Linked DNA regions of Homo sapiens: regions 2, 3, 4, 5 and 6 are each linked to region 1. Evidence: promoter capture Hi-C in 16 types of primary human blood cells and fetal thymus (Javierre and others, 2016). All regions are on one chromosome and are shown on one strand. Each heading gives the region's core, a stretch centred on a gene start or on the middle of the fragment in contact. The rest is flanking DNA. Distances are from core to core; before and after follow the strand shown. Region 1 holds the start of FAM53B (family with sequence similarity 53 member B). Region 2 has its middle 5.6 kb from the start of OAT. Region 3 overlaps OAT (ornithine aminotransferase). Region 4 has its middle 36 kb from the start of OAT. Region 5 holds the start of NKX1-2 (NK1 homeobox 2). Region 6 overlaps LHPP (phospholysine phosphohistidine inorganic pyrophosphate phosphatase).

Region 1 (4,176 bases), core at 274-2,773:
TAATTGTTTCCAGGCCTGGGACCCTGCATCTTGTTTTTTAAGTTGACCTGATGAACTAGTAATTGTAGGAATAAACTGAATGTTTGCCAGCAGGAGTCACTCTAGGCTTCCTAATAAAACGTTAGTAAATTAAACTCTGTCCTTAAAGCTCTGAAAGGCTGAGGTGATTGTGTGATATCAGATGGCTTTAGGGAAACACTGACTCTTTTCGTTAAGCATAGCAGCATTCTTAGATTATTCCTTGGGCCTTCTTTTGTTCACCATCGGTTCTTGGATCTTGTTCCTTTCAAGATTGGTCCTTAATGCATTTTTAAAAAGCAACGTATATGGGTAAGGATATCAATATCTTAGTATGCTGTATTCTGTATGTTAGCTCATTTTGGCTTTCTAGGATGAACTGACTCTATCCCACATCATGTAACTTGAAATGAATAGACTCATATCCTTTCCACTGATTGCTGTCCATTCTAATCATGCAGCAGAACTCAGTGGAGCGAGCTGTAGTGTGAAAGGAGATGTCAGTTCATGCTTTTCTGAAAAGAATGGGTCCGGTGTGATGATATTCTGAAATATTTCAGCAATAGCCATGAAATATAATAGTTTCCCAAGCACACAAAGCTCAAGAAGTTAATTGTTCATTTATGTTTGATACTGGGATTGAAACATTGGATTAAAACCAATTAAATGTTCCTAGAAGCAACAGAAAAAGTTTCCTTATTTATGAATAGAACCATTCAAATGGCGCAGACACAATCCATGTAAAGTAATGAGGTGTTTTGTTTTTTTGGCAAAGGAGAACACAAAACAGGCATAGGGAGTTTTAAAAAAACTTCTCTTTAAAAATCGCTTTTTGGATACAAGGTCAATAAAATAACATACACCAGTAGGAAGGAGTAATGGGAAATCTAGGGCTTCACAAGGAAAACAATCCCCCTCCCCCAGGTGAGCAGCACAATGAAAATACTCTGCTTATTCTATCAGGGTTACATTCCTGAACTTAAGTCAACATCCTAAGTTACAGAACTAAACATGCTCTGCCTCTGCTTAGCAACCACAAATCCTTCCTTCGCCAGTTGCATGTATTTTGGATGTGGCTTCTGAAGTACACAGTCACAGCGCCCCGAGTTAGGAAATTTGCGCTTTATTTTCCCAAAGTGTGACAACACTTTAAGGTCCCCCCTCCCCGACCCCACCCGCCCGCTGTCCTGCACGCCACTGAAGTGATCGTTTCTTTTGAACCTCGGCATCTAACAACCCGGAAGCTGGACGCCTGAAGCCTATGCGGCCCAGCGTTTTCATCCCGGCTCGTGCTGGGGGCGGGGAGAGAAGCCCGTAGGGCCTCTGGCGCGGGGCCCGGGCAGCCGCGGTGGCGCGGCCCAGGCCCGGGGCCACTTCCCGCGTCCCGGGGCCTCGCAGGCGCGAGCGCGGCGAGCGGCGCGCGGCTGAGCCCGCAGGACGCCCTCTAGCCCCGCCGGCGGCGCGCCGCGAGTCCCTCACTCCCCGCCCATCGGCGGCTGCGCGCACTGCACACTCGCCTGCCGCCGCCGCCGCACGCCGCCTGCCTCCTGCACGCCGCCGCCGCGCCTAGCGCCCGGGCCCGCGACACCGCCCGCTAAGCGCCGGGCCGAGTTCACGCAGCCGCGGTCTGGCGGCTCCGCGGCGGCGGCGGGTGCGGGCGGCCTGGCCGGTGCCGGTTAAAGGGACGAGTTGCAAACACTTCAGGAAGTGACAAGTCGATTTCCTCCTCCCCGGGAGTCGCTCGTACAAAGCGCTCGGCGCCGGCAGGCGAGCGTGCGCGCGGCGGACGCGCGGCGGGCACCCCGGACGACTTGGCGAGCGCTGGCGGTGACGGCGCGGGGTCCGCGCCCGGAGCGCCCCGCCGCGCACAGTAAGCGACCCGGGGCCGGGCGGCGGCGGCGGTGGCCGGGGGGCTGGCCCCGAGCGAGGTCCGGGCCGTGTGCGTCCCGGCCGCTGGCTGGAGGGAGCCCGGCTCGCGTGCGCAATGGGCTTGCCTTTTTTTTTTCTTTTTTCCTAATGTTGCTGGTTTCCTTTTTTTCTGCCTTGTTTCGCCTTTGGGTTGGGTCGGGCGGTTTCTCCGGGCGCTCGGTCTCGCCCCTGATGCAGGCGTGAGACTTGTCAGAGCACAGGCATGGGGAAGAACAAGCCTGGCTGCGGCGGAAAAGTCTGCGCTCCCCAGGCCAGGGCGGGCGGGCGCGGGGACTGCTGCGCCCGGGGGTGTCCTCTCCGCGTCTCAACTTGAGCCCTGACTAGCCGCTGCGGAGGAGGCGCGGAGTCTCGGGAGCCGGGCGGCCCCATTCGCCCCGAAGTTCCCGCATCGTTTGCAGACAACTCTTTTGTTCGCGGAAGTTTGCACCCGCCACCCCCGGGGTGCGGGAGCGAGGCGGCGGGCTCCGCTGCTGCTGGACTGTCCGGGGCGGTCAGGATGGGGGTGAGGGGGCATTCTGTCCCGGGCGGGGGAAGCCCGCGGGGAGGCCACCGCTGGGGCTTGCGGAGTGGGGGCGTCCGCGCCGGCGTGGCTTTTGCACATGGCGAGAAGGGCCGTCCGGCACAGGCACACTGGTCGAGTCACATTTTTGCTAGTCTTGGATTTTGCAAGCCCGTGGGAGTCAGGTTCCCCGCTCAGGGTTTCTCTTGGGGCAGAGACGAAAGAAACGAGGACACCCAGAATCCGGGGAGGGTTTGCGGTTTGTGTTGTCCCAAGTGTGTTCTCGCTCCCCCCGCCCCCCCACCTTGTCCCCCAGCCCCCAGCTCTCCACCCCCATTTTCGGACTTGGGGAACAATGCTTGTAGTACGGGCCGGGGCGCCGCAGCAGCGACGAACCGCGCGGACAGGTTTGCCCGGGTCCCTCGCGTTCGGACGCCCCCTGAAGCCGAGCTCCTTCCATCTGACCGCCCGGGCTCATTAACACGTACTGTACTTAGGACGATGGTGAACAAAGAAAAGCTCTTTGCAGCGTTTGATGAATGGGATTCTGCCTCCTATAGGCCACACTCCGAGTCTTCCATACGGTACAATCTCCGGACTCGGTGGTGTTAGGAAAGTGGCCCCCGGAATGGCTTGCATTCCGGGTCTGGGATCCTGGGGTGGGCATTTGTGCCGTCGCCTTCGCCGCCGCGCTCGCCTTGCAGGAGCGGGTGCAGATGGAGCCAGGCTGACGGTTGTTCAACAGGAACAAATGTTTGTTCAATTGTTGGATGGTGGAGAAAAGGGACTGTTTCCTATTGACTGCTGCAGGAGTTGGAATGGCATTGTTTATTGGCCTGGGAAGCCAGGCAAGCGTCTTGTGCTGCTTACAACATATTAGCAGACTTCCAAATGACATGCTAGCATATGTGTTCCCAGCAGTCCCCACCGGCTGGCAGGGAGATTCCTCCTTGCTCCAGATCCTGGACTCGTTTAAAAGATGCCACCTGGTTTGAGGACTTGGGAAGGAATGGAGTCAGCCGACCAGGTGAAACTCACTGTTCCTTATTAGGCCAGGTTTTTGTTTCATTTTAATTTATCTATTTAAGAGTAACTTGTGTCAGTTACAGTTTTGATATTGAATTGCAGGTCTACAGGGTCCCCTCCCCCGCCTCTAGCTGTGGACTACAGAAACAGCTACTTGTCCCAGTTGATAGTCCCATTCAGTGGGAGAAGGTTTGGCTCAGGATTGGTAGCCCTTGACTCTGTGTCTGCACTTGGCTGTCACCCATCATGCGACCTGGGAGTCTGCCGATCCAGCTTCCAGGCGCTTTTTCAGGTTAAAAAGCTAAGGAGAGGCGTGGGGAAGGCCTGTATTTTTTTCTTCCAAACGTTCCTTCAGAGAACGAGGCGATTTAAATTCAAATAATGTTGCCCAACGACTTCCTATTTTCTTCTGAGAAGGTGAGATTCATGTGCAGTCATTTTGATATCAAAGACAAGTTTTTAAATAGAAACTAGCAACCTCACTGCTGCAGAAGTGGACTTGAATGTTCCAGTCTTCTCAGGACAAAGTAGAGAGCATTCCACTGTCTTGGTTCATAATGTTTTAAATCAGTTTCCCTCTTCTCTTTTCAACGTGGGGTATGTTGCACATAGCATTTTGAAAGTACGCAAAGTTCTTTTGGAAAGAGCTTTATGATACCTTATTGTCACCGTGGTGGTTACGCTTAATTGACATTTTATGGGAA
Region 2 (3,682 bases), core at 938-3,437, 320 kb after region 1:
GATTCTCCTGCCTCAGCCTCCTGGGATTACAGGCGCACACCACTACCACCCAGCTAATTTTGTATTTTTAGTAGAGACGGGGTTTCACCATGTTGGCAAGGCTGGTCTTGAACTCCCGACTTCAAATTATCCACCCACCTTGGCCTCCCAAAGTGCTGGGATTACAGATGTAAGCCACTGTGCCCAGCTTCCTATACCACGATTAAGGATGTGACAGCCACAAAGACAGAGCGTATTGATGACCCAAATACCAGGACTGGCATTGCTTTTGGTGAACTCGATTGTCCCAAACGGTGAAACTCTCTGCAAAGTTCTGTGCAAAAAATATTAAATGTTTTCAGCAAAGATGAAATGATTTACAATACCCATTGTATTAATATATTTATTTCATAGCATTTCATATATTTATTCCATACATTTACTTAGGTCAACAATTTCAGGAATAAACTGTGGAAATTTCTTCTTTTCTGGTTTGTTTTTATTATAGTCCAACTTCAAAGAGTCAGAATTAAAGTCCTCAAAAGAAAAGTAATCAAAGTTATCTAAGTTTGCCATCATGGAATCAATAAAAAAAATCATTGCAAAACACACTGATCTTCTTAGTACCTAAATAGATAAGGATATAAAGTAAATGTTTAACTAGTAATTGAGGTTTATCTTATTTTTTAAAATTAACGAGCAATGTAATATTCTTTAAATAAATACTGCTGCTCATTCCTTAAATTTTTATTAAAAACTTTTATTTCAGCCTTTTTTGTTCTTAGTCAAAATTCTTACTTCTGATTAAATGTCTCAAATGTGGAACATGATTGGTAGAACACACAGTTTCTTGGCTGTCCCTGTGACCCATTTCGTAAGACAGGTGGGGGCCCTTTACCTTGGAATCTTGGATTGGATTTCTCTGCCTTTAAAAGAGTTAGATTAGTTTTTTTTTTTTTTTTTTTTTTTACAGAGTCTCACTCTGTCACCCAGGTTGAAGTGCAATGGTGCGATCTTGGCTCTTGGCAATCTCTGCCTCCTGGATTCAAGCGATTCTCCTGCCTCAGCCTCCCAAATAGCTGGGATTACAGGCATTTGCCATCATGCCCAGCTACATTTTTTTAGAGATGGGGTTTCACCATGTTGGCCAGGCTGGTCTTGAACTCCTGACCTCAGGTGATTCGCCTGCCTTGGCCTCCCAAAGTGCTGGGATTACAGGCATTAGCCACCGAGCCTGGCCTAGATTAGGTTTTAAAGTGTCTCTTTATCTCTAAAATCTATTCTGTATTTGCATCTCTAATGCCTATGTTCATAAGAAAGAAAACATATTATTTTTCTTTTTTTTTTTTTTTTTGAAATGAAGTCTTGCTTTTGTCCCCCAGACTGGAGTGCAATGGCACGATCTCGGCTCACTGCAACCTCCGCCTCTCAGGTTCAAGCGATTCTCCTGCCTCAGCCCCCCAAGTAGCTGGGGTTACAGGTGCCTGCCACCATGCCCAGCTAATTTTTGTGTTTTTAGTAGAGATGGGGTTTCATCATGTTGACCAGGCTGGTCTCGAACTCCTGACCTCAGGGGATCTGCCCGCCTCAGCCTCCCAAAGTGCTGGGATTACAGGCGTGGGCCGCTGCGCCCAGCCAACATATTATTTTTCAATATTGAGCCTTAGCTGACTTTCACAGCTCCGTGAGCCTAATGGCTTTTTACGTCTTTGCTTCTGGGCTAATTTGAATAGTCCTGACCCCCTGGCTTGGTAAGCTGAATGGGCCTGGTCCTCCTCCATCCCTCTTCTGGTATTTTCTGTTCCCCCCACTCCCCTGTACCCAGTTTTTCAGGCACCCAGTGTCCTCTGGCCTCAGCCCCCCAGCTCTCAAGATCCTCGCAGAGGCTCCCCTCCAGATCTCATGCCACATCCAGAGAATTGTCAATCTCCTCTCCAGACAACTGTAAATGTGCCAGGCCCAGGTGACATTCCTTCAGCGGGACAGTTAGCCAAATGTAAATGGGCAATAATGCTTTGAAGTATCCTCCTGCCTTCAACTCAAGCTTCTAGGGCTTTAATTTGAATAGCTGTCGCTATTCTAGGGTTGAGGAGAGGCTCTTGGAATCTCAGAACCACTCCCAAAATGATTACCTGCTCTGCCTCTGATTCCTGTCCAGAGGAATAAAGATGAATAGTGACGAACGAGTGTAGAATAGTAATTTCTACTAGAGCCATGTAGAGATGGGCGCTGGGAGGCTGTGAAAATCCTGCAAGACAAGCTCTGCCTTTAAGAACTTAAATGTGGTTGGGAAGATAAGACACTGCCAACCTCAAATAATGAGACTCAGAAAATACAGTGAAGTATAGAGTTTATTCAAGCCCAAAGCTTGAGGATGGCCACCTGGGAACAATCCATTCAAGTTGCCCTTATCATACACTCTGATTGACGTCAGTTACAAGTGGGTTTTTTTTGTTTTGTTTTTGTTTTTGTTTTTGTTTTTTGAGACAGAATCTTGCTCTGTTGCCCAGGCTGGAGTGCAGCAGCGTGATCTCTACTCACTGCAACCTCCACCTCCTGAGTTCAAGAGATTCTCCTGCCTTAGCCTCCAGTGTAGCTGGGATTACAGGTGCATGCCACCACTCCTGGCTAATTTTTGTATTTTCAGTAGAGACGGGATTTCACCATGTTGGCCAGGCTGGTCTCGAACACATGACCTCAAGTGATCGGCCGCCTTGGCCTCCCAAAGTGCTGAGATTACAGGCGCGAGCCACCGTGCCCAGCCCCAAGTGGGTTTTTAAGGAAAAAAGAAAAGGCAATTCCTAAATTGTTTACCAAGAATTTACATTAAAATAAGCTACTGATTGTCTATACATTGTTTTTTGTAACTTAAATTCCAGGAACATGAGATGAGTGTGTTAGGTAGTCAGGAACAAAAATGCCTTTAAACATCTACCCCCGGGCATGAGTTTTGGGGGTTGTAACTGATGTCTGGTGTTGGTGTTTCTCTGGCCTGATTTTGCAAACCTTGAATACCTGCTACGAGTGAGTTTTCATTTCATTTTTTTTTTTTTTGAGACAGAGTTTCACTCCTGTTGCCAAGGCTGGAATGCAATGGCGTGATCTTGGCTCACTGCAACCTCTGCCTCCCGGGTTCAAGCGATTCTCCTGCCTCAGCCTCTCGAGTAGCTGGGACTACAGGCATGCGCCACCATGCCTGGCTAATTTTGTATTTTTAGTAGAAACGGGGTTTCCCCATGTTGGTCAGTCTGGTCTCAAACTCCCGACCTCAGGTAATCCTCCCACCTCGGCCTCCCAAAGTATTGGGATTATAGGTGTGAGCCACTGCGCCCAGATGAGTGAGTTTTCTTTTCTCAAATTGATAGAGCTAGAGAGCCAGAGAGATATTGTAGGTTAAAAAACGACCGCAGGCCAGGCATGGTGGCTCACACCTGTAATTCTAGCACTTTGGGGGGCCGAGGCCGGAGGATTGCTTGAGCCCAGGAGTTTGAGACCAGCCTGAGCGAGATGTCGAGACCCTGTCTCTATGTGTATTTTTAAATTAAAAAAAGAAAAAAGACTGCAGGCCAGCCTGACGTGGACAGGAAGTGCTCAGGAAGAGGACGAGGCCCCTTCAGTCTCAGTCGTCAGGGAGGGTCTCACCTGGGGGACGGGAAGGGGTTGCAGCCTGAGTTCGTAGGTGGAGCTTGGCTCCGGGAGAGAA
Region 3 (3,844 bases), core at 1,345-3,844, 340 kb after region 1:
TGTTTAATATCAGACTTTGTTTTAACAATTGAAAGCCCACCGAAGGTGCACTAAAGCAAGCCCTTGATTTATTTTTTGAGTCAAACTTCTTGTGGTGTTTTGCGGGGATAGTGCTTATTGAATTTTGGGTTTCTTTGAAATAATCACTGTTTGTTTCCCCTTTGTAGCTGGGAACTTCTGGGGTAGGACGTTGTCTGCTATCTCCAGTTCCACAGACCCAACCAGTTACGATGGTTTTGGACCATTTATGCCGGGATTCGACATCATTCCCTATAATGATCTGCCCGCACTGGAGGTATTTCACTAGCATCATAGTGCTCAGCTCATTGGGAATAGAAATTAAAGCTGTTGAATATATGAATTAAAAGTACATTATATGACAGTAATGCAAATTTATCTCACTTAAGTTAAGCCACGATTTCAGACTTGTTCTCAGTAGCGATCAATTAGTTTCCAACACAGAGAAAGCTGAGTTCTGTGATCTACTCTGTACAGCCAGCCAACTACTTTAGATGTGTGTCCTTCATAACAGTTAACTTCGGTATACCTGCTTACTTACTAGGTAAAATTTCTGTTTTTAGCTAGCTTTTTAAAATTATGAAGTGGAAGACTTTTTAAGAAAGCCTTAAGTTGGCTTTAAAAGGCTATTTACTTTAGATTTAATTTAAGTAATTAATTTCTTTTTTTGAGACAGAGTCTCACTCTGTCACCTAGGCTGGAGCGCAGTGGCACAATCTCGTCTCACTGCAAACTCCGCTTCCTGGGTTCAAGTGATCCTCCTGCCTCAGCCTCCCAAGTAGCTGGAACCACAGGCACACACCACCACACCCAACTAACTTTTCTATTTTCTTTAGAGACATGGTTTCGCCACGTTGGCCAGGCTGGTCTCGAACACTTGACCTCAAGTGATCTGCCCACCTTGGCCTCCCAAGGTGCTGGGGTGACAGGCATGAGCCACTGTGCCCAGCCAGATTTAATTTAGGTACATTTGTGTATTAGAAAACAGGCTGGGCATGGTGGTACATGCCTGTAATCCCAGTGCTTTGGGAGGCCAGGGCTGGAGGAGCACTTTGTGTTCAGGAGTTCAAGACCAGCCTGGGCAGCATAGGGAGAGCCTGTCTCTACAAAAAAATTTAAAAATCAAGGTCAGGCGCGGTGACTCACGCCTGTAATCGCAGCACTTTGGGAGGCCGAGGCAGGCAGATTGCTTGAGGTCAGGAGTCGAGACCAGCCTGGCCAACAGTGAAACCAGAGACAGTGGTGAAACCCTGTCTCTACTAAAAATACAAAAAAAAATTAGCTGGGCGTGGTGCTGTGCGCCTGTAATCCCAGCTACTTGGGAGGCTGAGGCAGGAGAATTGCTGGAACCCAGGAGGCAGAGGCTGCAGTAAGCCAAGATCGTGCCACTGCACTCCAGCCTGGGTGACAGAGTGAGACTCCATCTCCAAAAAAAAAAAAATGAAAATAAATAAAAAATTAGCTGGGCATGGTGCGCAGCTACTTGGCAGGCTGAGGCAGGAGGATCACCTTGAGCCCAGGAGTTCGAGACTTTAGTGGGCCATGTTTGTGCTGCTATACTCCAGCCTGGGCAACAGAATGAGGCAAAAAAGGAAATGTAGGCTAGTGTAACTTAAAGGTGAGGTATTTGGAGCTTCTGATAATTGAATGGCAGTGAATTTGAAGTCAGAATTTACGTTAGTGCGAAAACTTGATTTGCATACTTAATGTAAAATATGTGTGGTATATGCTTTCAGATTTCCAAGTGTGGTAGAAAGGAAGTTATTAAAACTTATTCCTGTTTCTTCTGTAGCGTGCTCTTCAGGATCCAAATGTGGCTGCGTTCATGGTAGAACCAATTCAGGGTGAAGCAGGCGTTGTTGTTCCGGATCCAGGTTACCTAATGGGAGTGCGAGAGCTCTGCACCAGGCACCAGGTTGTCACGTTAGCTGTTTGTGATAAGGCTGAATGTCGAGTTAGCTGTTTGTGATGAGGCTGAATGGGCTCCTCCCCAACTCCTCTCTGAATTCTGCTGATTGGATAAATGCAAAGATTAAATTACTTTCCACTAGAGGGCGATGGCATTCTAAGAGCTTAAGTACTTCCTAGTGCTTAGAAACCTGCACAGAAGCAGACTTTTTCCTGTCTCTGGCCTTGTCCTGGGCCCTGTGCAGAACTGCAGACCTGGTCTTAACAGCGTTTCCTTCCTCGCTGCTCTAAGAGCCTTTCACTCTGAGCCCCCGCAAGCCCTTTGTTGTATTCTCTCCTCCTTTCCCCCAGGGCTAATAGTAGTATATTTTGTTTACCATTTGAGAGTTTCTGTCACATATTAAATGCTTGTGGAATAAACAAATGAATTAATTTGTTCCCAGAGGGTAGTTAGGTCCAGAAAAGCCATACAAAACCCTCACCTTTGCATCAGCACCTTTTCACTATGTAGAGCAGGGCAGAATGGGCCTCTAGGGAGATAGTGGCCTGACAAAGGAAATAGTTGGTGAGTCTACAAGATTCTTATAGGATACTCTTGAAATTGTGTGCAGTTAAAACATTTTTACAAATTTGAGGGCACATCAGAATTACACATTTATTGTTGGTGGGGGGACAGTGAAATAAGGATGGCTATTTTCCCTGTGGAAACGAAAGTGATCACTAATAGGGGTATTTTTTTTCCCCAATAGGTTCTCTTTATTGCTGATGAAATACAGACAGGATTGGCCAGAACTGGTAGATGGCTGGCTGTTGATTATGAAAATGTCAGACCTGATATAGTCCTCCTTGGAAAGGCCCTTTCTGGGGGCTTATACCCTGTAAGTTTCATGTTCCCCCTCTTTCCATTTCCTACTCTTGTAAAATATACCCCTAAAGTATTTATACATCAACTGATTGTGACAACAATGCTTTCAGATTGTTTGATTTTACCAAGTGTGCTGCAGGCCACCCGGAATATCTGTAATAAAAACATTTAAGGGACCAGTGTGTGACCCACTTACTTATTGCCTGAAGAATTGAGTGTGCCTTGGAATTTGCTATGACATTGGATTTGGGTGGAAACAGTTTACCCCCAAAGGACTCCTGTAGACTCCTGTCCTTTTTTCCAGTGTTCAGAAACATGGCATATTACTAATTGTTTAAAACCATGACTGGTGAACAAAGAGACTGAGAAAAATTAATGTTTGTTGTAGTTCATGTCTTGGGTTTGCCTTTCAGAGCCAGTAATTGTTACTACATCAGAGGTCTCTGAAGTATAGATGTTTTTGCTGAATAGACAAAACTTTTGCTAAAAAGAATGCTCAGCTTTGTTTTTTAAGCATTTAAACAAAGCATTTCATCTCGACGTTGGAAGTGATTGTGAAATTATATCATTGCAGAAATAGCTTTTCTCTTTTAGTTGCAAAATTATATTGTTTTGTGCCATTGAAGTGTACCTAAAGTATTTGTAATGTTTTAGGGTATGACTAAGTCATTAGGTTGTTACTGGTAGTTAGGTTGGCAGATGTAAACTCTTTCGTTGAAGTCATTAAGTATCAGTTTCTTGGCCGGGTGTGGTGGCTTATGCCTGCAATCCCAGCACTTTGGGAGGCCGAGGCAGGCAGATCACCTGAGGTCATGAGTTCGAGACCAGCCTGGCCAACATGGTGAAACTATATCTCTACTAAAACTACAAAATAAATAAATAAATAAATAACATGTGTGGTGTGGTGGTGGGCACCTGTAATCCTAGCTACTTGGGAGGCTGAGGCAGGAGAATTGCTTGAGTCCAGGAGGCAGAGATTGCAGTGAGCTGAGATCACGCCACTGCACTCAAGCCTGGGTGACAGCGAGACTCTGGGGAAAAGGATGCTTAGTA
Region 4 (3,683 bases), core at 548-3,047, 360 kb after region 1:
GCTCTTAGACAGGTGAAAAATGGAAAAGCTTTGCTTAGCTAGCAGATTGCTCCTAAAGCAATTCACAGTTTGGATTGAAAAAGTGGGTTGCTGTTTCTTAGGCTGTCCCTTGGGATCCTGCCCTCCGAGGCTTGGCAGGTTTTTCATTCTGGTGAGAGAAGTCTTGGCTGGGGTCCTGTGAGGCTGAATGGAGCCCAGAAGGGCCACCAGGTGTCCTGATTGCAGAGGAATTCAACTTTGTTGGTTCCTTGCCTCTGCTTTGGTTTTAAATGAAGGATCAGTGGCCAGGGAGATTCTGGAAATAAATGTGAGTTCCTCAGCCACCGGAGAGCTAGCCCAACAGCGGCTTACACCTGTAATCCCAGCACTATGGGAGGCTGAGGCAAGAGGATCGCTTGAGCCCAGGAATTTGAGATCAACCTGGGCAACATAGTGGGACCCCATCTCTAAAAAAAAAAAAAAAAAAAATTAGCCAGAGTGGTGGCATGCACCTGTGGTCTTAGCTACTGGGGAGGCTGAGTAGATGAGCCTACTGAATCAGCCAGCAGATGAAGACATGTACCCTCCACTATCTTGAGTTATTCATGAGGTAGGAGGATCACCTGAGCCCAAGAGATTGGGGCTACAGTGAGCCACGATTGTACCACTGCACTTCAGCCTGGGTGACAGAGTGAGACCCTGTCACCCAGGGTCGAAAAAAAAAAAAAATAAAGACCCTGAACTATGTCTGTCATTTTTAGGATCGCAAAGACTCAGAGTGATAGCTGTTGATTCCACATGCTGGCCAGAGGGGCTGGCGGTGTGGGTGAGGTGCCTGCCTGGGGCTGCACATGCAGCTGACTCAGTGGTACATAGACTGTGCTTGAGTCGGGAGAGGGCCCTCAGTCAGGCAAGGTGGCCAGGTTGGGGTGTGTCAGGGAGTTCAGCTAGATTTAATTTTATTTAGAAAAACTTTCAAATGAGATATTTATTGAGTCTGAGTGTCGTGGAGCAAATTCATGCTTCTTTACACAAATAAAAATAATATTTGTGACTGGCAGCTGCTTTGTAAGTCTGTAGAGTGGATTCCTGTGCTTGGGGTGGACCTATTTGGTCAGTGGGGGCTTAGAGTTTTTTTTTTTTTTTTTTTTTTTGAGACAGAGTTTCGCTCTTGTTGCCCAAGCTGGAGTGCAGTGGTGTGATCTTGGCTCACTGCAACCTCTGCCTCCTGGGTTCAAGTGATTCTCCTGCCTCAGCCTCCTGAGTAACTGGGACTACAGGCATCCGCCACGCACCTGGCTAATTTTTTTTGTATGTGTAGTACAGACGGGGTTTCAGCATGTTGGCCAGGCTGGTCTTAAACTCCTGGCCTCAGGTGATCCGCCCGCCTCAGCCTCCCAAAGTGTTGGGATTACAGGCGTGAGCCACCACGCCTGGTCCCTTAGGGTTTTATGATGTCTGTTTTACAGACAAGGGAGCTAAGAGTCTGCCTAGCACCAACTTCACATGATGTCGGCGGCAGAGCTGGGGCAGGGTTCCACCACTCTGGCCCTCTGTGAGGCTAGAGGTCTTCAGTCTTTGGAGCACTCCAGGGACATGTGGCCACTTTTACAACATCTGTATGCCTTGTCTGGGGTGGGCCCGACACATACGTGTGTATATATACATATATAATTATTATTTTTGGAGACGGGGCCTCACTCACTCTGTCACTTAGGCTGCAGTGCAGTGGTGTGATCATAGTTCACTGTAACCTCAAACTTCTGGGCTCAATCACTTCTCTCGCCTCAGCTTCCCGAGTAGCTGGGACTACAGGTGTGTGTCATCATGCCTGGCTAATTAAAAAAAAATTTCTGGCCGGGCACGGTGGCTCACGCCTGTAATCCCAGAGCTTTGGGAGGCTGAGGTGGGCAAATCACAAGGTCAGGAGATCGAGACCATTCTGGCCAACATGGTGAAACCCCGTCTCTACTAAAAAATACAAAAAATTTAGCCAGGCATGGTGGTGGGCACTTGTAGTCCCAGCTACTCTGGAGGCTGAGGCAGGAGAATGCCGTGAACCCAGGAGGCAGAGCTTGCAGTGAGCCGAGATCGTGCCACTGCACTCCAGCCTGGGTGACAGAGCAAGACTCCGTCTCCAAAAAAAAGAAAAAGAAAAAAAAATTTCTTTTCTTTTTTTTTTGAGAAAGATTCTTGCTCTGTCACCCAGGCTAGAGTGCAGTGGCATGATCTTGGCTCACTGCAACCTCTGCCTCCCTGGTTCAAGTGATTCTCCCGCCTCAGCCTCTGGAGTAGCTGGGACTACAGGCATGCACCACCATGCTCGACTAATTTTTGTATTTTTAGTAGAGACAGCGTTTCACCATGTTGGCCAGGCTGGTCTCGAACCCCCCTGACCTCAGGTGATCTACCCGCCTCTGCTTCCCAAAGTGCTGGGATTATAGGCATGAGCCACCACACCTGGCCAAAATTTTTTTTTTTTTTTTTTTTTTTAGAAATGAGGTCTTGCTATGTTGCCTAGGCTGGCCTCAAGTAATCCCCCCTTCTTGGGCTTCCAAAGTGTTGAGATTATAGGCGTGAAGCACTTCCCCTGGCCTACATGCATATTTTAACAGACTTTCCAGGTGCTTCTGCAGCATAGCCAGGGTTGAAAACCCCTGGAGCAAAGTTTCAGTGATCAAAGCAAGAAGATTCAATTGGATCAGCAAGTCGATGAAGAGATGTACCGTCCACTACCTTGAGCTAGTCTTGACTTCCTCTAGTGACAATTGTTGACCGGTTTGTTTTCCTGGAGTGCACCAGACCATGCAGTTGGGATTATGTGTTCAGTGCTGACCCACTGCCAGCATTGGGAGTTGAGAATCCATAATTCAGCCACCTTTATTGAGTACCTGCTGTGTATGAGGCCAGGGATGCTGAGGCGGGTACTACAGAGAGAACCCTGGATGCCGGGACACTCATTTTAGCTTTACACATTCTGTGGCTCTGCCAGGGGGCACCCATCTGTGGCATTGCTGGGGCAGGGTGATGACAGAGGCTTCTGGGTGCTTCCAACTCTAGATGGGGTCTTGTCTTTACTGTCCTTGGGTGTCCATTCTGGCTCTGACATGGTTGGCTGGGAGCCCGGGACACCCAGCTAACCTTCCGTGCTCAGGGTTCTCTCGGTCAGTCCAGTTTGCATTGATCATAGTCCATAATCCCCTGAATGCGACATCAATTAAACAGTGTCCTCCACAGGAAGGGCTTTGATTTCTTTCCTCAGCTCTGACGGGCGGCTTTATTGATGTCGCTGCTTCTTTCCGATAGTGCTTGCGAAAGCCGTTCCTGTTCTCCACCGCGAGAGGTGCCTCTTGTTTCCAGTGATTTATTGCACTTACAACGTTGATGTTTACAAAGAACCGCATATTTATTCAAGCACAGAAGTTCGTTTCCCGCAAATACACGTGTGAAGGAAAACCAGATGAGTCAGAGTGTGGGAGGCCTTCCCAGCAGGATGGATGTTGGTTTCCTTGATTTCCCCAGCACACCTGCCCCTGCCTGGCTGGGCATCTTGAATCAATTTGCAGACAACTGCCAAGAAAAGCTTGAGGTGCATTATTTTCAGAAATTGATGAGCAATTCGAAATCAAACCAGGGTCTATTGGGTGTTTACAGTGCCAGGATCTGAGCTAGGGGCCAGAGAATGAAAGCTAAGAAAAGACAGA
Region 5 (4,291 bases), core at 45-2,544, 290 kb after region 1:
AAGCAATTTAAAGATAGCACTCAGGCGGAATTTTAATGCCCAGGCTGAAAAAAAAAAAATCAACTCTATGCACAGAGGGAAGGTGGCTTGCTGGATCTGGATATGTTATATAGGAATAGCGTGGGTATAAATACACATGTGAGGATGTTAGTGAGCCAAACACATGGCCAAGTTGTACTGAAAAGGATGCTCACTGCCTCCTGGTCTTTTACAAAACAGGTGGCCAGAAAAAAAAATTACCTAGGACCTCCTCCTCCACTATCCCCCACGTTGAAGAAAGTATCCTGTTCTTTGGTTAGCAGGTTTCTCTTTAAGTTGGATGAGTAAGAGAGGGCATTTCTATCCCTTCAGTGTTGATGGGAGACCCAGCGAAGTTTCTTGTGTGCCATCTATTGCCTGCAGCCAAGTACTAAGCATGAGCATTCACATTACCTTGTGCTACAATGAACACACAGACCAGAAATATCTGGCCGGGCACAATGGCTCATGCCTGTAATCCCAGCACTTTGGGAGGCCAAGGCGGGCAGATCACTTGAGGCTAGGAGTTCGACACTAGCTTGGTCAACATGGTGAAATCCTGTCTCTGTTAAAAACACAAAAAATTAGGCCAGGCACGGTAGCTCACGCCTGTAATCCCAGCACTTTGGGAGGCCGAGGCAAGTGGATCACAAGGTCAGTAGTTCGAGACCAGCCTGGCTAACATGGTGAAACCCTGTCTCTACTAAAAATATAAAAATTAGCTGGGCGCAGGAGTGTATGCCTGTAGTCTCAACTACTCGGGAGGCTGAGGCAGGAGAATCGCTTGAACCCAGGAGGCAGAGGTTGCAGTGAGCTGAGATCACACCACTGCACTCCAGCCTGGGTGACAGAGTGACACTCTGTATCAAAAAAAAAAAAAAAAAAATTTAAGCCGTGCGTGGTGGCTCACACCTGTAATCCCAGCACTTTGGGAGGCCAAGGCTGGTGGATCACATGAGGTCAGGAGTTCAAGACCAGCCTGGCCAACATGGTGAAACTCTGTCTCTACTAAAAATACAAAAATTAGCCAGGTGTGGTTGTGCGTACCTGTAATCTCAGCTACTGGGGAGGCTGAGGCAGGAGAATCGCTTAACCCCAGAAGGCGGAGGTTGCAGTGAGCCGAGATCATGCCATTGTACTCCAACCTGAGAGACAGAGCAGGACTCTGTCTGAAACAAAACAAAACAAAAGAAAACATTAGCATGGCATGGTGGCACGTGCCTGTAATCCCAGCTACTCGCCAGCTACTCAGGAGGCTGAGGCATGAGAATTGCTTAAATCTGGGAGTTGAAGGCTGCAGTGAGCTGAGATCGCGCCACTGCACTCCATCCTGGACAACAGAGCGAGACCCTATCTCAAAAAAAAAAAAAAATCTGAAAAATAAGGGGCAAGCAAAACAGAAAACCACTAAGAGAAGGAGTTTGTAAGGATTCACAGGTTTAAGGAATGTGGCCTCTGCCATTCTTGGCTTTCTCTCCAATTTGTTGCTTCTTCCTTTTTCGGCTCCTTCCCTATATTTAACATCTGTGAACCTCAAGGGAAAGATGATTCATATCATTTAAACAAAATTTTTTGAGGTAATCTATGGAGTACAGTGGAAATGATCCGGGATTGGGTTACTCTTGGCTGTCTGGGCCTCCCTTGTCCCTCTGGTTTGGGGTATAGGGTGGCCCCTGGAATGCCCACCATCCTGTGAAAATAAAGAGTCTCAAGGTTTCTCATAGGAGAATGAATAAGAGGGACAGTGGGAGGCCACATACTTCCATCTGGGGCTAACTTAAGGAAACCTATTCCTAGCTATCCTGAGAACCTCAGCATTTAAAAATATAAACATGGGCCAGGCACGATGGCTCATGCCTGTAATCTCAGCACTTTGAGAACCCAAGGTGGGCGGATCACTTGAGATCATGAGTTTGAGACCAGCCTGGCCAACATGGTGAAAACCTGTATCTACTAATAATACAAAAATTAGCCGGGCACAGTGGCGCGCACCTATAATCCCAGCTACTTGGGAGGCTGAGGCAGGAGAATTGCTTGAACCCAGGAGGCAGAGGTTGCACAGTGAGCCAAGATCGCGCCACTGCACTCCAGCCTGGGTGACAGAGAGACTCTGTCTCAAAAAAAAAAAAAGTAAACATGGTGGGAAAATGTAGAAGGGGCGGCTAGGATCAAAAGGGTGAAGGGGGAGAAACAAAAAGGAAGATTAGAAAAAAAAATCGAGAACTGGGTGAGAAAGCATTATCAAAACAGAAAACAAAGTACCCCATCTGTATTTCAGGAAGGCTCTGTGATTTGCAGTCCAGGTTGTCGGGCGCCACTTTTTAGTTTCAGGGCCATCTTTTCTTTGGGATTTTCACATTCCCTTCGATGGGAGGTGGTCCAGTGGACTTGGGAAGGGCACTTCCTTTCCTGAGCTTTAAAAGCACAATCCGTCTTCACTTTAGGACTGGAGCTGGCTTGATTTCCGCAGGCTTTAAAGTCCGCAGGGAATACAGTGACCACCTCTGGGAGGGGCAGCAAGGTTTGAATGAGAAAAGCTACAAGGAGCTGGCTTCTAAGGATGCCTCTTCAATAACAGATGGGATTAGCAGCCCCCAGCACTTTAATGAGAAGGTTTCTCCTCCTCTTCCTACTCCTTACCTGCTCAGACAATATTAATTGCCAAGTCATTGTTTGGAAACCCTATGGGGCGGAGAAGAAAGGAACGGCAGAGTCAGAGGTGGTTCTGGGCCAAACACTAGGAGAAGCCTCAGAATTTGCCTGAAACAAATGCTTAGTGCTCACAGACTGCTGTGTGCTTTCCAAGAGACAAAAGAAGAAATTCAGGATTGGTGTGGCCAGTGGAAGCTTCTCCGACCACTGGTGATCACTTTCCCAGGGGACTTGGTGGGGCAGATGAGGGCCATTTCAACTGTCTCTCTTCTCGGACCTTAAATTCAAACCAGACAGGCATTTCTGAATCTTCTGCTTCTGGGGCTGAGAGGGAATGGGGGTCAGAGATGCAACCTAATTCTCAGATCCAATTTCTGTTGCAAATGATCGAATTTGTGACTCTGGAGAAGGCCTGACGTTTGTCCATTGAGGGCTGTGCTCCGGGTCACAGCAAACCAGGGCAGACACCCTCAGCCATCTCACTTGGCTCTGTGCCTGAAGCCACCAAGGTTTCCAAAGCGGCTGGAATCCCGGTGGGGGCTCACCACCTCTCCAAACCTCTTGCTGGCCTCTGGCTTGGCTTTGGAGTGGAAGCAAAAGACTGAGAGTCCGGGATTTTCTCCCTCCGTTTCTGAGACAGCAGGATGTACTAAAAAAGCACTGACTGGTCCAGTAGAAGACCGAGGTCCAAACCCAGACTCTGTCACCAACTCACAGTGACCCTGGGGAAATCTTTTCTTACCTTTGAACCTCGATTTCCTCATCTTTAAAACGGGGACAGTGGTCTGTGCCACGTGACGCCCATCTCACAGGGATGCTCAAATAATCAAAAGAGATCGTGCAAGCCTCAGGGCTTTGTGAACGCTAAACTGTGAGAACGTGAGGGATTTTACCTCCGAGGTAACCGGGTCTGAAGCTATTACAGTAATTCACTGGCGGGGAAGGAGATGCGCTGAGCATTGCCTGGGAGTAAGCAGTCCTGGCCTCAGTTGCATCCCCAAGTCTAAGGCGGGTGCACCGGAGAAAGGGAACAAACTCAAGTCACAGAGGTGTGTGTGTCGGGGTGAGGGATCCCCGGGATGGAAGCCTCCCTCGCGCCCTCGGAGAGTCCCAGAGGGTTGGGCGGAGGCGCGCGGAGACGACAACACTGTCCCCGCGGTCGCGCGCACCGGGCGCGCGGAGGCTTCCCCGAGCCCAGGCAAGCGGCCGCGGCACAGCGCCTGATAGTCCCGAGGCTGGCCCGGGCTGCGCCGGTGCCAATCGGCGCGCAGCCCCCCGCGGCGCTCTCCCCGCCCCGCCTCCCCGCCCCCCTCCCCAGCTTCACTTGGCAGCGCGGACCCGGCTCCTGGCTGGAAAGCTACCGCCAAGCCACAGCCGAAGGCAAGCCCGAGCGGCGCCATCCCCAACCCCGCGCCGCCGACCGCCGGCCCGTGGGCGACGGGCATGCTGGCATGGCAGGACGGCGGGGCCAAGGCGGCTCCCTCCCACCACAAGATTTCTTTCTCTGTCCTGGACATCCTGGACCCACAGAAATTCACCCGCGCAGCGCTCCCTGCCGTGCGCCCGGCTCCCCGGGAAGCCAGGAAAAGTTTGGCGGAGGTCGAAGCGGGGAAAGATGCCA
Region 6 (4,253 bases), core at 1,169-3,668, 270 kb after region 1:
CAGTTTCCTCACCTGTAAAATGAGGCACCAACAGTAGCTACTGGACAGGGCTGTCATGAAGATCATATTATTTATTTTTTATTTTATTTTATTTTTGAGACGGAGTCTCACTCAGTCACCCAGGCTGGAGTGCAGTGGCATGATCTTGGCTCACTGCAACCTCTGCCTCCCAGGTTCAAGTGATCCTCCTGCCTCAGCCTCCCAAGTAGCTGGGATTACAGGCACCCGCCACTATGCCCAGCTTATTTTTTGTATTTTTAGTAGAGATGGGGTTTCACCATGTTGGCCAGGCTGGTCTCGAACTCCTGACCACCGGCTCATGCCTGTAATCCCCAGCACTTTGGGAGGCCAAGGCGGGTGGGTCACTTGAGGTCAGGAGTTTGAGACCAGCCTGGCCAACATGGCGAACAACACAGTGAAACCCCATCTCTATTTAAAATACAAAAGTTAGCTGGGTGTGGTGGTGCACACCTGTAATCCCAGCTATTCAGGAGGCTGAGGCAGGAGAATCACTAGAACCTGGGTGGCAGAGGTTGCAGTGCGCTGAGATGGCACCACTGCACTCCAGCCTGGGCGACAGAGCGAGACTCCATTTCAAAAAAAAAAGACATGAGAAGCACCTGGCACATTTCAAATACTAAATAAATGGCAGTAATTGCTGTGGTGGTGACAATGACAACCACGTCTCTGACAAACCCACTGTTGGGGCAGGTACATTCTGAGAGGAAGCCAGGTGCCCTGGGAAGGAGGCCAGCAGGAGGAGCCCAGAGTGTATCGCCCAGGGGCACCTTTAGAAAGAGGGGAAAGTTTACACCAGCAGGGAGCCCAGGGTGAACTGAGCCCCAGCAGTGGCTACAGCAGCGCCCGGTGACTGGCTCCTCCTCCACCGAGCCCCAACGGCATGTTCACATCGAATCCTCTTGACAGTCTGAGAGGTGGGTTCATGTTTCCATTTACAGATGGGACCTGTGGTTTGGAGATGGGACCTGTGGTTTAGAGATGGGACCTGCTGTTTGGAGATGGGACCTGTGGTTTGGAGGGGTTCAGTGACTTGTCTAGGGACAGAACTGGGATGAGAATCCTTTTATGTTGGCTTCATGAAAATACAAACAGATGTGGAAAATACAGCTCCTTGAGCAGAACTGTGTGCTTTGGTTTAGCATGTACACCGAGTTCAACAACTACAAGACTTCATATGGCCGGGCACGGTGGTTCATACTTGTAATCCCAACACTTTGGGAGACTGAGGTGGGCAGATCCGTTGAGCTCTGGAGTTCAAGACCAGCCTGGGCAACGTGGCAAAACCTTGTCTGTACTAAAAATACAAAAATTGGCCAGGTGCAGTGGTGTGCACTTGTAGTCTCAGCTACTTTGGGGGCTGAGGTGAAAGGATCGCTTGAGCCCAGGAGGTCGAGGCTGCAGTGAGCCAAGATTGTGCCACTGCACTCCAGCCTAGGTGACAAAGTGAGACCCTGTCTCAAAAAAAAAAAAAAAAAAAAAAAAAGGGCAAAGCAACCCACTCTTCAAAATTATTTGACCCTTCAACAACAAAATGCTCCTTTAGCTCCTAGATATGGAATAAGTAAAACGTTGGCTTTTATCTCCTGATAGTTTAAGGTAAAAAGGAAAAGAAAACAAAAACTTAAAAAAAAAGGAAAACGTTGGCTTTTGTTTGTTTTTGCTTTTTTGAGACCGAGTCTCGCTGGTATTGCCCAGGCTGGAGTGCAGTGGTGCAATCTCAGCTCACTGCAACCTCCGCCTCCCAGGTTCAAGTGATTCTTCAGTCTCCTGAGTAGTTGGTATTAGAGGTGCAAACCACTGCACCCAGCTAATTTTTTTATATTTTTAGTGAGACGGGGTTTCACCATGTTGGCCAGGCTGGTCTTGAACTCCTGACCTCAGGTGATCCACTTGCCTCGGCCTCCCAAAGTGCTGGGATTACAGGCATGAGTCGCCTCGCCCCACCCAAACATTGGTTTAAGAGAAAATATTTCACTTAATTCTTGCAGCCTGGGTACAGGAATTACACATAGGAAACTGGGGCCCTTGAGCTGCAGCCATAATGGGGTGACGGAACGCTAAGGGACTTCCTTGAGGCCACATGGCAACTATGGGGCAGAGCTGGGATTGGAAACCCACGCTCTCACACTAGAGCTGACACCTGGCACTTTCTGTGACAGGATTAAGCTTTGCAACAGGTAAGAGGTGGTGCCTGCCCTGGCAGAAGCAGCAGCCCTCAGTCCCCCTCAAAAGGTGTCTGAATAAGTCCTATCACTTCTGTGAACCTTAAGTTCCTCCTCTACAAGCTGGACAGCAACGTGCCTGTTGCCGGGGGCCTGGGAAATCACCCTGCACACCACAGTGGGCAGGTGTGGCACTGCTTTGCCAATATGGCTTCTTGCACGTTGTGGGGCACTGGGGGTAGGGGCAGGACTCCATTCATGAGCTTTGTAACTTGTGCCACACTCCCCTTGTAATTGGCCAAGGGCTTCCAACCAGAGGCAGCACCTGCAGGGTAAACCAATAATCCTGTGCCAGACCCACCCTGGCTGCCCTTGATTTTCACAGGGTGACCCCCGCCCACCAAGGCTGAGATCAGAAACTGAGAAGCAGACCTTACTCCTGCCAGCAGAGCCACGGGAAAGCTTTCAAGCAGCCATCAGATTTTCCTCAGTCTCTTTCCATACAGTTCAAGTTTGTGATTCTATTATGACTCTACCCCAGATATACGGGGGTGGTTGTGTTTCCTTTGTTTTCTCTTAACAAAAATGGAAGTTTAGGCTGGGCGCAGTGGCTCACGCCTGTAATCCCAGCACTTTGGGAAGCTGAGGCGGGCGGATCACCTGAGGTCAGGAGTTCAAAACCAGCCTGGTCAACATAGTGAAACTCCGTCTCTACTAAAAATACAAAAGTTAGCCAGACGTGGTGGCAGGCGCCTGTAGTCCCAGCTACTCAGGAGGCTGAGGAGGAGAATCGCTTGAACCCGGGAGGCCAAGGTTGCAGTGAGCTGAGATCGCACCACTGCACTCCAGCCTGGGTGACAGAGCGAGACTGCGTCTCAAAAAAAAAAAAAAAAGTAAGTTTATACACATTATTCTACAGCTTTTTCACTTGGTATATACAGCACTCATATCATATAAACTAATGTCAGCACCAAACAGAGCGAAGTCATTCTTTCATAGCTGTCTAACAGTCTGAAGTCTGGATAAACCAGAAAACATTCACTCATCCCTCCTAATAAGCTCGCTTCCAGCACTCACATAAACTTCTAAGCATATAAACTGTGTTGTGTGGTTCACTGCTGCAGACCTCAACATTTTTTTTGAGACAGAGTCTTGCTGTGTCTCCCAGGCTGGGGTGCAGTAGCACAATCTTGGCTCACCCCAGCCTCTGCCTCTCGGGTTCAAGCAATTCTCACGCCTCAGCCTCCCAAGTAGCTAGGATTACAGGCGCACAACACCACACCCAGCTGATTTTTGTATATTTAGTAAAGACGGGGGTTTCACTATGTGGGCCAGGCTGGTCTCAAACTCCTGACCTTATGTGATCTGCCCGCTTTGGCCTCCCAAAGTGCAGGGATTACAGGCGTGAGCCACTGCACCCAGCCCAACATTGTTATTCATAAAAACACTTCCATCATTCTCATCAGTTGACCTCAGAACAAACATTATAAATTTGAACACAGAAAACATATTCCATTCTGAGCTAGACACGGTGGCACACACCTATAATCCCAGCTACTGGGTAGGCTGAGGCAGGAGGACTCCTTGAGGCCAGGAGTTTGAGACCAGCCTGGGCAATATATTAAGATCCCATCCCTATTAAAAATAATATACTATTCAAACACTGTTCTCATAAATATTTATATATAAATATATATATATACAAATATATATACAAATATATATATACATAAATATATATACAAATATATATAAATATACATAAATATATATACAAATATATATAAATATACATATATATAAATACATATATAAATATATATAAAATATAAAAATATATGTAATATATATAAATATATAAAAAATATATAAATATAAAAAAATTTATATATATATAAATATATATAAAATATATATAAATATATATAAATATATAAATATATATAATATATAAATATATATAAATATATAAATATATATAATATATAAATATATATAAATATATAAATATATATAATATATAAATATATATATAATATATAAATATATATATTATATATATATAATTTT

Evidence for each region. Contacts are between HindIII fragments. The CHiCAGO score rates a contact against its expected background, and 5 or more counts as called.
Region 2: a contact is called between a fragment that was not itself captured here and the fragment with the promoter of FAM53B in region 1, in 7 of 17 cell types (total B cells, total CD8 T cells, total CD4 T cells and 4 more). The highest score is 8.5, in total B cells.
Region 3: a contact is called between a fragment that was not itself captured here and the fragment with the promoter of FAM53B in region 1, in 7 of 17 cell types (naive B cells, total B cells, naive CD4 T cells and 4 more). The highest score is 11.4, in naive B cells.
Region 4: a fragment that was not itself captured here is called in contact with the fragment with the promoter of FAM53B in region 1 in 3 of 17 cell types (total CD4 T cells, naive CD8 T cells and naive B cells); the score reaches 5.4 in total CD4 T cells.
Region 5: a fragment that was not itself captured here is called in contact with the fragment with the promoter of FAM53B in region 1 in 9 of 17 cell types (naive B cells, total B cells, total CD4 T cells and 6 more); the score reaches 10.3 in naive B cells.
Region 6: a contact is called between a fragment that was not itself captured here and the fragment with the promoter of FAM53B in region 1, in 9 of 17 cell types (fetal thymus, activated CD4 T cells, non-activated CD4 T cells and 6 more). The highest score is 12.0, in fetal thymus.

The regions. Positions count from the first base shown.
Region 1 is chr10:124,741,725-124,745,900 of GRCh38, reverse strand. It overlaps FAM53B (family with sequence similarity 53 member B), which reads left to right and starts at 1,523. Exons shown (of 5, transcript NM_014661.4): 1 at 1,523-1,888. RefSeq lists silencers at 1,285-1,424, 1,555-1,604, 1,625-1,734, 1,785-1,944, 2,265-2,474 and 1 more. The HindIII fragment of the contact is 7,750 bases long and covers 1-4,176 here.
Region 2 is chr10:124,422,646-124,426,327 of GRCh38, reverse strand. No RefSeq gene overlaps it. Among named protein-coding and RNA genes, the nearest start is that of OAT, 5.6 kb to the right of the region's middle. The HindIII fragment of the contact is 323 bases long and covers 2,026-2,348 here.
Region 3 is chr10:124,401,887-124,405,730 of GRCh38, reverse strand. OAT (ornithine aminotransferase) reads left to right here. Exons shown (of 10, transcript NM_000274.4): 5 at 168-295; 6 at 1,811-1,933; 7 at 2,676-2,804. Among named protein-coding and RNA genes, the nearest start is that of OAT, 15 kb to the left of the region's middle. RefSeq lists a silencer at 1,897-2,191 and enhancers at 1,897-2,191, 1,728-2,271. The HindIII fragment of the contact is 9,199 bases long and covers 1-3,844 here.
Region 4 is chr10:124,380,823-124,384,505 of GRCh38, reverse strand. No RefSeq gene overlaps it. Among named protein-coding and RNA genes, the nearest start is that of OAT, 36 kb to the left of the region's middle. The HindIII fragment of the contact is 3,534 bases long and covers 31-3,564 here.
Region 5 is chr10:124,449,766-124,454,056 of GRCh38, reverse strand. It overlaps NKX1-2 (NK1 homeobox 2), which reads left to right and starts at 4,022. Exons shown (of 2, transcript NM_001146340.3): 1 at 4,022-4,291. The coding sequence starts at 4,114. RefSeq lists enhancers at 2,041-2,597, 2,598-3,153. The HindIII fragment of the contact is 3,147 bases long and covers 1-2,867 here.
Region 6 is chr10:124,471,384-124,475,636 of GRCh38, reverse strand. All of the region lies in intron 1 of LHPP (phospholysine phosphohistidine inorganic pyrophosphate phosphatase), which reads right to left. Among named protein-coding and RNA genes, the nearest start is that of LHPP, 12 kb to the right of the region's middle. RefSeq lists an enhancer at 337-837. The HindIII fragment of the contact is 458 bases long and covers 2,190-2,647 here.